Linked DNA regions of Homo sapiens: region 1 is linked to region 2. The links are contacts of gene promoters, found by promoter capture Hi-C in blood cells and fetal thymus (Javierre and others, 2016). All regions are on one chromosome and are shown on one strand. The core of a region is centred on a gene start or on the middle of the fragment in contact, and the rest is flanking DNA. Distances in the headings are between cores, read along the strand shown.

The links. Contacts are between HindIII fragments. The CHiCAGO score rates a contact against its expected background, and 5 or more counts as called.
Region 1: a fragment that was not itself captured here is called in contact with the fragment with the promoter of KRT79 in region 2 in 6 of 17 cell types (naive CD4 T cells, naive CD8 T cells, total CD4 T cells and 3 more); the score reaches 10.8 in naive CD4 T cells.

The regions. Positions count from the first base shown.
Region 1 is chr12:52,567,825-52,574,114 of GRCh38, forward strand. It overlaps KRT74 (keratin 74), which reads right to left and starts at 6,019. Exons shown (of 9, transcript NM_175053.4): 1 at 5,483-6,019; 2 at 4,629-4,843; 3 at 4,120-4,180; 4 at 3,535-3,630; 5 at 2,845-3,009; 6 at 2,035-2,160; 7 at 345-565. The coding sequence starts at 5,953. RefSeq lists an enhancer at 4,444-4,613. The HindIII fragment of the contact is 4,039 bases long and covers 1-3,777 here.
Region 2 is chr12:52,828,688-52,835,665 of GRCh38, forward strand. KRT79 (keratin 79) reads right to left here and starts at 5,624. Exons shown (of 9, transcript NM_175834.3): 1 at 5,097-5,624; 2 at 2,719-2,939; 3 at 1,545-1,605; 4 at 1,336-1,431. The coding sequence starts at 5,573. The HindIII fragment of the contact is 16,661 bases long and covers 1-6,978 here.

The DNA of each region.
Region 1 (6,290 bases), core at 508-3,007, 260 kb before region 2:
CCTTCATCTTACAGATGAGAAAACAAGAGTCCTGGAGATACTAGATGATTTACCGAGACCACACCACTAGCATAGGATAAAGCCAATAATTAGCCCCTGCTGAAGAGCCAGTCATTAGCCCCAGGTCTGTCTGAGCCCCCGGTTCTCATCACAGCAGCACACGGCCATCTACGCTTCATGGCTCATGTCCAACAACCCCTTGCAGGAAGCTGCCTCTGAGTTCACGAAATCACCACATCTCTTGCTTGTATTGGCACTAACCATGTTGTTCTCCAGGTGGCCCCTCAGCCAGACAGGAGCCACACCCCAGTCCCTTCTCACACTTTCCCCTCCACCCCACCTACCTGCACTCCTCGCCCTCCAGCAGCTTGCGGTAGGTGGCAATCTCCATGTCCAGGGCCAGTTTCAGGCTCATGAGCTCCTGGTACTCGCGCAGCATCCGCGCCAGCTCCTCCTTGGCCTGGTGCAGGGCGCCCTCCAGCTCATCCAGCTTGGCCTGGGCATCCTTCAGGGCATTGTCTCCCCGCTGCTCAGCGTCAGCGATGGCCGTCTCCAGGCTGGCACGCTGAAGGGCAAAGAACAGAGAGACCATCAGAACAGAAAATTACATTTAGCTCATACCAGTTAAGTAGAACAATGCCCTCATTTTGCAGATGGGGCCCTAGGTGACAAGGAGTAAAAGCTGCAAAGCCAACACCAGAACTTTGTCTCTTCTATTTTCTATTGCAGAGGAGTATTCAAAGCTGTTATCACATGAAGCTGTGGAAGCAGTTGCATTTCAGGAGGTCAGGAAGAAATGTCGATGTTTGCAAAGTTAGATAGTGCCTGAGACCGGAGGCCACCAGTATCTACAGATTCAAAATACTACAGGTTCAGGAAAATCATGCCCGATCCCCTAGCAAGGCCAGCCCTGAGGATGAGACAGTATGCCACGGTCCCACTGTGATCAGATTCCTGCTGCAGGACCTCTCCCCATTGGGGATCCTTCTGATCTGTTAGCATCCAGATGAGTGTTTCTGGACTCCAGCACTCTGGGGAGAGTCTGTGTGAAGGCTCCCACATCTGGCCTTCCCTTAGAGCAGGAGGATAAGGCCCTAAATTATAGGCACAACCTCAGAAGCTGGACTCTGATGAACATCTGGGGGGCATTGCGATGCCTGTTGCTAACAGAGAGGGAGGAACTATGCTCATGGAATTTGTGAATCGGCCAAATGTAGAGTCGTAGAGTTGTCCCTGTGTTTGCCTGCAGAGCATGGAGGGTTGTGGGGGCACCAGAAGGAGAACAGGCTCAGATCTTTCCGCTGGTCAATTCTATCACTAGCAGAGCAGACCTGGTTCTCAGAGAGGTCACAGGAAGGATCCTCCAGCCTCCAATATCATCTCCCCACTGACGCAGTGTTTAAAATTTGCTGCTGTCAGGTAAGACAGGCCCCCCACCCCCACCCCCCCGCCCACTAACATGGAAGTAGTACCATGGCACAGGGCAAGGGAACCCAGGAGGGCTTCATCGACAGCTGTGTCCCTCAGTCAACAGACCATGCCCCACTCCGAGAGCAGGAACCTGGTGTGGCCAACAGAGGCGCCTGATGCATACCCTCTGCACCCCACACATGTTCCATGTCCAGTGGGAGGAGGAGACAGAGGGTCTGCCCTCAGAGGGGGCACCCAAAGGGGACATGGGGCAGGTTCATTGGACACAGAAAAAATCTGCAGAAGGGGAACCTGGGTTCTAATCCTAGCTCCATTCATTACCAGCTGGGGGCTCTGGGAAAGTCCCTTCCCCTTCCCAGCCCAGTTGCTTTATCTGCAAAATGAGGAGTCAGAGAAATAGGTTTGAGGCTCCTCCCAGTTCTGGGCGGGGTACCAGCTCTGATGGTAGGGTACCGAGGCAGGGTGGGAAAGGGAGACTGTGGGTGGCCGAGGGACCCCTAAGCCCAGCAGGGGATATTTGCTTGTTCCCAAAGGGCAGGCCCCATTTCCTCATCCCAGAGCCTGCTGTGGAGACCGGGAGTTCTTTGTGGGGCTGCTGCCCACCTGCTTCTTCACATTCCCGATCTCACACCGGATCCTCTGGATGAGCCGGTTCAGCTCCACCATCTCGCTCCTGGTGTGTTTCAGGTCGTCACCATGCCGACTGGCTGCCAGCTGCAGCTCCTGGATCTGGTTTCCCAGAGATAGGAAGTTGGTGATGAGACAAGGGCACTGGGGAAGGGTCCTGTAAATAAGCCACCCCTGCCACCCTGGCTGTCGGTGGGATTTAACGGAACTGAAGAGGAGTGCTGGGACAGGGTCCTGGGGGCCCAGGTAAGGGGTTTTCTCCCTGACAGCCCCAAACATAGTTCCATTACTCAGTTTACCCAAAGCATAGTTCCATTACTCAGAGCACTCCTCGCCTTCCATTTCCTTTTGAAAGTCTTCCCGTGGGGATCAGGAAAGAGCTACAGGCTTCTCCTTCTCTCACTCGCCCCCCACCAAATTCACCCATGGCTACACTCCCGCAAGTCTGTGATTCTCCCTCTGCCCTGTGGCAACATGCCCCCATTCCTATAAGTGTGTTTGTTTTACCACCTCACTTCTTTCACCTGCAACAGAGAGGAACAGGCAGTTCGTGGATGGAGGAAAGAAGTGAGGGATCCTCTCTGTTGCATATATTCAATCCATACCAGTTTCATGATTTATCTTTGATAACAAGCTCTGCTAAGAATTCCTTTTTTCCTTGAAGCCTTGGTTGGAACCTTTCTTTCATTCAGCATGCCCACAAAAGTATTCCTCACATTCACTGTGCAGGTGACCCCTCCCAGGAAGCGAAGGGCTGCTGTGGGAGGAGACCCATTCGGTGACCACCTTGGTCTGGTACAGGGCCTCGGCCTCGGCCTTGCTCTTCAGGGCGATCTCCTCATAATGCATGCGGACCTCAGCGATGATGCTGTCAAGGTCCAGGTCCCGGTTGTTGTCCATGGACAGGATGACAGAGGTCTCACTGGCGTGAGTCTGGATCTGAGCGATCTCCTGCATTGAGAGAGGAAGACAGATTCAGCAACCCCCTGGCTTCCCTCTTCTGCCCCATCAGTCTTCTGGGCCCATGGTCCCTGGCCCAATAGGCTGCTAGGATCCACGGGGACAAAGTAGGGGGAAGAAGTGCCCTCTGGGATGTGTCTGCAGAGCTGAGGGAGAGCAGCTAACAGCAGCAGGAACCCCTGCATATGGCAGATGCCCGCTGGCACATGCAGACGGGTGAATAATGCATTTTCCACAATTTCACAGAATCCAAGGCTCTGTGCTTTGTAAGACCTCACTGGGTTATCTTTTCCTGCCCGTGGGCAAGTCCACTATTGTATCAAGATCAATTTCCTCCTGTATGTATGGCCTCCAAGGACCAGCATCCTGCACTTCCATGGTCTCCTGGTGCAGGGTTTTGTACCTTTCTACCAAAACATCTTTCATTTTGTTGATCCTAAATCTCTCCTTTTGGTATCTCCCTGGAAGAGTCGGGAAGGAGGCAGGGTGAGGGTGGGGGGACAGGAGTGTCCTTACTGCATCATACAGACACTTGAGGAACTTGATTTCTTTGTCCAGTGAGTCCACTTTGGCCTGAAGCTCCACCTTGACTGCGTAGGCTGCATCTGCATCCTGCCAAGAGGCCCCAGAGTCATTGGGGGATGCAACCCTCATCCCACAGCTGCCCTGCCCAACTCCTGCCTCAAAGCCACCTGATTTTCTATTTTCTACCCACAAAGGAAAGCTCACTCAATATCAATTTCTTCTCAGGCTGCCTGAAGCTTTGGGAATAGGGAAAGGAGGATGGGGCAGCTCTGTTATGCCTGGAGAAAACAAAGCCCAGAGAGGTAGTAGGTTTCCTCAGGTCACACAGCAAGGTTGAGCTGGACCCGAGTTTCACAGTTCCCAGACCAGAATTCTGTCTGTCTCTGTCCATTTCCTGAGTGTGTGTCTTTCCTCTCCAACTCACTGGAGGCCAGGACTATGACTCCACCCTCACCAGGCACCAGCCCCCTCACCAGGCACCAGCCCCCTCCCCAGCCTCCTGGGCTGAAGTCCTGAGCAGAGTTGTTAAGATGGGGGTGCGAGAGACCCTAATAAGGAGGCTCCTCCCTCTCTTACCTTCTTAAGCACCACAAACTCATTCTCTGCTGTCGTGCGCCGGTTAATCTCCACTTCATATCTGCCAGCAGGGAGAGTAGATGGCCTTAGCCCCCTTAGCCAAGGAACTTTCTCTTCCTGCTGGCCAGGCAAATGTTTGGGATACAGGGTCCCTGCAGGGTCTCTGGGGTGAGCAGTAAGAGGCTAGTGACAGGAGTAAGATATCCCTGAGTTGCTTCACTTGTCTCCTAGTTTTTGCATGTTAGGAAAACACCCAGGTGCCTATTGGGCTCCCGACACCAGCAACTGAACATTTCAGTGGGTCAAGGAGCACAGGAACCGCTTCCTATCAACTAGGCAGGAAGTTATCATCAAAGAGGATAGGCCCTTCCCCCTAGCCAGAGAAAGGGATGTGAGCTCCTGACCCTGGTGCATACTCCCCCATCTCCTAAAAAATAATGGCACAGAGATCAGGTGAGCCCAGAGGCACGGGAAACATGGTCTGTGACCCTCGGGTGGAGCCTGCTCACCTCTTCTTATAGTCCTCCACCAGATCCCTCATGCTTCTCAGCTCCGAGTCCAGCCTCACCCTGTCCCCAGACAGTGTCTCCAGCTGCTTCCGCAGGTTGCTGATGTAGCCCTCAAGGATGGGCTCCAGGTTCTTCTTGCAGTTGTTCAGGTCCAGCTGCTGCAGCAGCTCCCACTTGGTTTCTAGAACCTGGTTCTGCTGCTCTAGGAAGCGTACCTGGAACCCAAATCAACAGACACCTGGAACCACAATGGGTGCAGTCATGCCCCCTGGACACACACCATTGACTCCCCAGGTTTGCCATAGATTGTTGTAGTCATTTTTGCTCATGTCTTGACTCTCCACCCTTGCCATTCCACACAAACTAGATCCTTTACAAGTGCTCATTTCCTAGCCTTCTGGACAAGGCATCACTGAGAACTCACTCAAGGAGTTTCCACAGCTTTCTTCTATTGCTCGGCCCTGGTCCCAGGAGATGTCCTTCCTTATGTCTCAACTAAGTGTCTCTTCCTGTACCATGAGCCCTTCCCTCTGAACACTGCTGGATTCTATTAGCCTTTCATGTTCTTGGAAGATCCAGCTGTCCTCAAGAAACTCATCACTTTTTTGTCAAGGAAGGGCTGCTCTTTACCCAGCTTCCCATCCTTCCCTGCAAAATCGCCAAAGAAGCCGATATATTCATGTATTCCTTTGTCCTCCGTGGCTCACAGACCTACTCTCCTTCCCTAATGGTGAGGAAGCCCTTCCTGAGGCCCAGCTGCACCTTTCCAGCCACAGTGTGCAGTCCATTCCCAGGCAGCAGGAAAACTGCTCAGGCCTCAGGGTGCGGCCTCATCCTCCTCCTATGAGACCCACCTTGTCAATGAAGGAGGCGAACTTGTCGTTCAGCACCTTGATCTGTTCCCGCTCCTGGGCGCGCACCTTCTGGATCTCAGGGTCCAGCTCCACGTTGAGGGGGGCCAAGAGGCTCTTGTTGACAGTGACCTGGTGGATGCCCCCAGGTGGGCACACAGACAAACATGCAGGCCCCAGGGCCACACTGCCAAACATACTGCCAGCAAAGCCACTGGCCCGGCCCCCTCCATACCCAGAGCCAGGCCTGAAGCCGTAACCTCCAGCCCGAACGCCGCCACCAGCCACATTGAAAGAAATACGCCGATTCCCTCCAAGGCTATAGAGGCTCCGACTGCCAAAGCCAGCGCCAGCCCCTCTGCCAGCTGCACAGTAAGAAGCCAGGCTACCCACAGCCTTCCTTGGCACCACTGCCGAATGCACACTGAAGTTGCCCTTGTCACCACTGGACTTGATGTTCAGTTGCCGACTCATGGTGGGAAAGGTTGAGTTGACAGAGCTGGAGAAAAGCAGTCTCCAAGGGGTAGAGAACACACTGATGGGGCACCCAGAGTGCTGCCTCCTTTTATCCCTGTTGAGCCCAGGACACCGGAAAAGGGCGTCTCTCCACTATCTCCTTTCCCCTGCTGATGGGCCAGGGGCCATGGGCAATTTGTAGAACAGAGATCTCCAAGCCCTTTGCAGCAACAAAGCTCTTCTGATAGCAAGTGGAATATGCTGCCCTTGCAGAGTGGAGTGGTCTAATTTGGAGTTTATCTGTGCTCCCTAATTAAGGACCTGAAGAGTTATCCCCTGAAGAGATCTCCTAGCT
Region 2 (6,978 bases), core at 4,374-6,873:
TGAAAAAGTCCAGAAGGGGTTCTAAGAAAGCCAACGTTGTGAAACAACTTCTAAAACAACACATAAACTAGTGCACTATTAGGCTGCATCAATAGAAGTTTGTATCTGGAACCTCCCTCCCCACCCCTCCATCTTCTGAATACTTCACTAAAAGCCCTGTTTCCTGAACGTCCTCACATGCCACAGATTTTTATCCTGTCATCATCATGACTTCTAAAGGGCTATCATGTGAAAGGCATAAGTCACAAGAAGACAATTGGGCAAAGTCAAGGGCAGAAGTCATGAGAAGGAGATTCAAGTCAGTGCTCTAATGAAGTTGTTCAACAATGGTAATGCCTGCCCTAAAAAGTAGTGAGCTCACTGCCACAGGAAGTATTTGAGTAGAGGTTACATATGATAGGGTTATGTCAGGGATATCATAGAAATTGTTCTTGCACTGGATGGAAGGTTGGTCTTGAGGTCCCTGCGGACCCTAAGAGTCTGTGATTCTGCGGTCAATTCATGTTAAGTTCAACCCTCTCACTCTAGTCTCCAAAGCCCTCTTGTCTCCTGGAACCCCTCCTGGATTCTTTAATCTACCCACGCCTCACCTTCTACTCCAATCTGGAATCCCAGTCCCTCCTCTCTGCCCATTCCTGCTCCCTCATCCCTTGCTCCATTACAAACCGGGCAGGAAGAGGGCAATATAACAGTGGTAAGAGTCAGACTTCGGAGTTCAAGAGCCAGATTTGAATTCTAGCATGCTTCTTCCTAGCTATGTGACCACGAGCAACTCTGAGCCCCAGGGTCCTTGACTATAAAATTGAGACAATAATAGTTCTTGCATTCTGGGGTTATTGAGAAGATTATGTTAAAAGTTTGCCCCCGTGCCTGGCCCATCAAAAGCACTTAATAAGTTGAAGCTAGTATTAATTAAAGTGTCAAGGTTTTAGGCTGGGTGCGGTGGCTCACGCCTGTAATCCCAGCACTTTGGGAGGCCAAGGCGGGTGGATCACCTGAGGTCAGGAGTTCAAGACCAGCCTGGCCAACATGGCAAAACTCCATCTCTACTAAAAATACAAAAATTAGCTGGGCATGGTGGCAGGCACCTGTAGTCCCAGCTACTCCAGTGGCTAAAGCAGGAGAATCGCTTTGCAGAGGTTGCAGTGAGCCAAGACTGTGCCACTACACTCCAGCCTGGGTAACACAGCGAAACTCCGTCTCAAAAAAAAAAGTGTTAAGGTTTCATCTTCCACCAATGAGGTTGCACTGGTGAATTCAGGTCAGACCTCCATGGAAAACGCCCAGTGCTGTTTATAGTGTATGCAAACTCTCCCTGCCCATTGGCCACCTCACCATTTCATAGAGTTGCTGCAGGAAGTCAATCTCCTGGGTCAAGGTGCCCACTTTGCCATGCAGATCCATCCGGCCCATGTATGCTGCATCCACATCCTGGGGACGAGAGAGCAAGACAGATCCTCAGGCCCCAGGGATGTCCCCTCTCCCCGAATCAGCCCAGTACCCTGGCAGCCAAAGGACCACCTCCCCCACTCCACTCGGCTCACCTTCTTGAGCACCACAAACTCGTTCTCTGCAGCAGTGTGCTTGTTGATTTCATCCTCGTACCTGTTACACATGGGAGACTCAGGCCAGGCTCAGCCTGGCTCTGCCTTTCAGGCATGGGACCCACTCAGCCTTACAGAAGCCCTGATGGGTCCCTCACTGATCAAGAACACCTCTGGGGAGCAGTTCTTTAATGTAGCCAACCAGTGAAGAAACATGGGGTCTGCCTTGATTTAAACATTCTCTCTCCCCACCCCATTTTAGGGAAAGAGGCACAGAATTTGTGCAATAATATGGCAATCAAGAGCTGCCATCTCTTTGGATCCAAGCCCTTAGGAGGCTTTAGAGGGACAAGTGAAGATGTGTCAACAGTGGCTGACCTTTACCATCACTTTCAACAACACAGTGTCATTCAAACCAGCTAACTCCTCCCCAACCACTTTTGATGAGATTTTAAGGTTTAGAAATTGCCATGGTCAATTTATGGGAAAAGTCATTTTTAAATGTGCGTGTTTAAAAGTTATAAATACGCATATCAACCAATTATAATATATAAACCTTTGGAGCTTGAGTCAAATAAGCTGTATTTTTTAAATTTATGACATGTATGGGGTCACTGGAAATTCAAAACTGGCTGGATATTTAATGATATTGAGGAATTATTGTTTTAAAATTTTTTAGGTGTGATTATGCCACTGTATGTTTTACTGAGTCATAGATGAACTACATTCACATGCAGATATATGAATATAACTTGTAAAATATTAGTGAATGAAATGACAAGATGTCTGGGATTTGCTTCAAGACTACAAGGGAATCAGAACACGTAGAAAAAGGCAAAGGTAAAAAAAAAAGACTACACGGGAAGAAGGGAAGTGGGGAGGTGTAAAAAATGCAACAAGATTGGTTATGAGTTGATAATGATTAAAGCTGGGTGACAGGAACATGGGGTTCATTATACTATTCCCCCTACTTTAAAAACTTTTTTAAATTACAAACAAACCTGCCAATTCTCCAGGTGGCAGCAGGTGCTGGACCTGAGCACCTGAGGGAGCCAGCTCTGTCTGTGCATCCCCCAGGTGGGCCTGGGACCCTGGGAATGGGGTGGCCCTCTTGGCAGGTTTCCCACTGCCCCTCCTCACTCCCACATGGCCCCGCCTGGCCTGCTCTCCTCACTTGTTCTTGAAGTCCTCCACAAGGTCCTGCACGTTCCTGAGCTCTGAGTCCAGCCTCCCCCGCTCGCTCTGAAGTCTGTCCAGCGTGCTCCGCATGCTACCCAGGTAGGCCTCAAAGAGGGGCTCCAGGTTGTTCCTGGTGACACCCAAGTTCTGGCCCTGCTCCTGCAGCAGTGCCCACTTGGTCTCCAGCACCTTATTCTGTTGCTCCAGGAACCGCACCTGAGCCAGAGCAGAAAGGGTGGGCTGATGTCACCCTCCGGTCACCAGAGGAGCCAAGGATGGGGTCCATTGCCACCTCCCCTCCAAGGCCAGGGCAACATAGGGACGCTGCAGCCGCACCTACACTTTGCTGTGGGGAGGCACTCCTTAGGGGAATAGACTGCTGGAAACGACCGTCCAATCTGATGGAAAGAACTCTACCAAGTTAATAAGCACAAAAGCCCAGCTCAGTAGCAGTACCAATTTACTAGTTGGTAACCTTGGTCGAATCATTTCTCTCTGAGTCTCCCTCTCTCACTTGTCCTGCATAAACTGGACTAGATCTATGTTTCTGACCCCTAATTCTGCATTAAAATCATCTGTTTAAAATGTAAATCAACTGTTTAAAATCACACACTTTGGGAGCCTGAAGCTGGAGGAGTGCTTGAGCTCAGGAGTTCAAGACCAGCCTAGGCAACATAGCAAGACTGTCTCCACTAAAAATCAAGACAATTAGCCAGGTGTAGTGGCATGCACCAGTAGTCCCAGCTACTCAGGAGGCTGAAGTGGGAGGATCACTTGAGCCCAAGAGATGGAGGCTGCAGTGAGCTATGACTGTACCACTGCACTCCAGTCTGGGAAACAGAGCAAGACCCTGTCTCAAAAAATAATAATAATAAATTAAGAAAATTGGTGAACTGGGTGAAAGAGTATACAGGAGTATGTTGTACTATTCTTGCAACTTTTCTGTAAATTCAACATTTTTTCCCAAAAAAAACTTTTTTTAAAGTACCAATGTCTGAGCCCTTCCTCTATAGACTCAGAAGGAGGCTTACGGTGTGGGTTTAACAGGACCCCCGAGAGTTCTTGGCCCAGCTGGGGTTCCAAGACAATCTCTCAGACCTCCAGCTCCCAAGCTGTGATTCTGCAATCCTGAGAAAGGTTTTGGCTTGTTTGGCCTCTGGGACAGTCCCACAGGAAAACCAAAAGTCACTAGGGGAGAGGGTGAGGAGGCAGGCAAGACGGCTTGCTTCATATTCTGTCATCCAATATCTCCAGGTCCCATCTCCACACTACCTGGGCCTCAGTCACATGCCCTGGGAGCATCATGCAGCAGGTGTGCCTATTGTGAGCAGTAACAACTCTTAGTGCCAAGAACCACAGAGTCCAGGGGCCTGGGTCCCAGTCCCGCCTCTGCCTCCAACTCCTTGTATCATCCTGGGCAAATCACTTGAGCTCTCTAGACCTCAATTTTCTCATCTCAAAAATGGGCACAATATCACCATTTCTGAGTCTTCATAGAAGCACTGTGGGTACCTCAGGAGAAAAGGGATGTGCATGTTCTTCGGAAACACACAAATCACTGAACCAAGGTACATTTGTCTGCCAGACCTTCCCCATCATGACCCGCTGCCTTGGCTCAGGATCGAGGTGGACAATGCCAGCGAAACAGACCAGGAAATCCCAGCACAAGTGTTGCTCCCATCCATCTGGAGGCAAGGGCAAGGTTCAGGGCATGCCTATGGGCAACAGGTCAAATTCCACATTCCCAGAGCTTGGTGACCTGGTGACCACCCTCCTCATTGTCCACCCCAAATTGAGCTTCTTCACTCAGAGTGTAAAAAAAGGAGAAGCGGAAGGGAGCCTACCCCTAGGACCCCACCCACACACAACTGTGTTTTGATCACATCTTGCCCTTAAGCCTCCTCCAAGCCTGAAAGAATGGAACAAACAGGGCTCCATGCTCTTAGCCTTGAACAACTCTTTCAACTCCTGAGCATTGTTTCCCCAGCTGTAAAATGACAAAAGGCAATGCAGGCCACCCCACTAAGAGGAGCTATGAGGACAATCCATTTTTTGATGATGAGGTAAGGCTACTGTGCAATCAATCGTATTAATCATGGTGGTAGGACAGGCTTCAACACGGGCAAGGTGGACTTGGCAAACCGGACTCATGAGTAGACTGGAGACTCCCCCCGCACAGGCACGGTGAAGACCTGAAGGCCGCCTCCAGCCACCCACGTCTCGGCATCCCAGGCTCAGACCGGGAGAGCTCCAGAGCTCTATCAACCACCACCCTAGTACAAGTGGGCTACAGCAGCCCTGGCCCAGCCCACCCTCTATTAGAGGTCCCGCTTCTTCCCCAAGAGCTCCCTTCCTCCTTCCTGCTTGGCCCACCTTGTCGATGAAGGAGGCGAACTTGTTGTTGAGGGTCTTGATCTGCTCCCGCTCCTGAGTGCGCACTCGCTGGATCTCGGGGTCAATCTCCACATGGAGGGGGGTCAGCAGGCTCTGGTTGACAGTGACCTCCTGGATCCCCCCAGGAGGACAAGCAGGCCCAAACGTCTGCCTGCCAGCCCCCTGTCCCATAAATGCCCTGCTGCCAAAGCCAAAGCCCCCCAGAGCCCGCCCCAACAAGGCCCCTCCGGCCACACTGACAGAGATACTCTTGTGGCCCCCCAAGTTATAGAGGCTTCGGCTGCCAAAGCCACCTGTGCCGGGGCCACAGTGGGCCCCGCCACCACTGCCACTGCTCCGAGACACCGTCACTGAGCTGAAGCTGGTGCGGGCCTGGGACCCACTCCCTCCGCTGGCAGAGTTGGAGCTGAAGCCCCCTTTTGTGGAGTATGTTTGCCGAGAGACGGAGGACCTCATAGCTGCAGAGGGGCCGGAGGGCAGGATGAGAGGGCAGGAAGGGAGTGCCGTGAGCTGCTGGGCCACTGTGGGCTTTTTATCTTTTCCCAACTGGGCCGGCTCCCCAGCTCCACAGACACTCCTGCCCCATCGCCCCAAGGGGAGAGGGAGGGGTCCTTAGGGCCACGGGGAGTGCCCTCTCCCCAAGCAGGAGGGAGGGGCCCTCCCGGTTATCACCTGTGCTCCAGAGCTGGGGCTGAGCCGAGACTGTCTGGGGCAGGATGCCACCTTCTCCCCCTGCCCCCAGGCTCTCCTCGGTTGGCACAGGATGATACGGGCTCCCATGGCCACCCCCACCACCCAGTGGCTGGCTTGCTGTCCTCCCACCCAGCCCCAGAGGCCACTGTCAATAGGGCTCTGTTCTACGGGGTTTGTCCCAGGCCCCTGTTGTAAGCCAAGGCTGCAGGGCCTGGGGCTGTACAGGTGGTAGGAGAAGGAGCATTGGGCAATGGGCTGCCAGAGAGAGCATCCAGGCCTGCTCCCATCCCACCCCCAGCCAACGGCCCACCACTCCTCCCAGGTCCAGGGTGTGTGACACAGGTGACAGGGCGAGAGTGGGGATAGCCTGTGCCTCTGCCGTACAGTGGCAGAGCCTTCTGGGAAGTGAGCCTATGCTGGCAAAGTGAATTCAAGGACAGAAAGAGGATCCCTGCCCAATCGTGGGGCCCAGGCCCTTGATCAGGAGGTAGAAAAGGCCTGGGGTCCTCAGGCAGGGCCCAGAAGCCTGGGAGCAAAGGACATTCTTATGGAGGCTGAAGAGAGGGCAGGGGATTTAACCAATACCTGAGATCCCTGAGCCTCTACCCCACAGCAGAGTCCCCACAGAAAGGTTCAGCCACTTTGGAGGGAGCTGGAGGTGGGTCAAGGACACAGACCACCCTGGGTGGAGACAGGCACAGCTCCAAAAAGCAGGTGTTCCAAAAAAGCCCCAGGAGGCCCACGCAGCAGCCCCGTCACTCCCATCTTCCCCTGCCCCACATGCAGGAGCCCATGTTTCTGATTCAGAGGGGCCAGGGGAGCTCCTTAAATCACCTCATATGGTCCCCGCCGCCCACTTCCTATTCACCTCAGTCTGCTGGGACCAAACACAGCCCCAAGCAAAGACAGAGACGTCAACTGTCAGGGCCGAGGGGTGACTGAGGAGGTGACTTTAGACACTGGCCCTCCCCACCCCCTTCTCTCAGCAAGAAGATGGGCTCAAAGTGAACAGAGACTTGCCTGAAAAAAAGGAGCGAGGACAGCATCGCTGTGCTCCCCACCCCCATCAGATGAGCAGGACAACCAGCCAGGCTGTGTCCCCAGGATCCCAACAGAGAGGACATGGGACTGCCACGGAGAAGGCTTGGCCTCCCTCCCATGTTCCCCA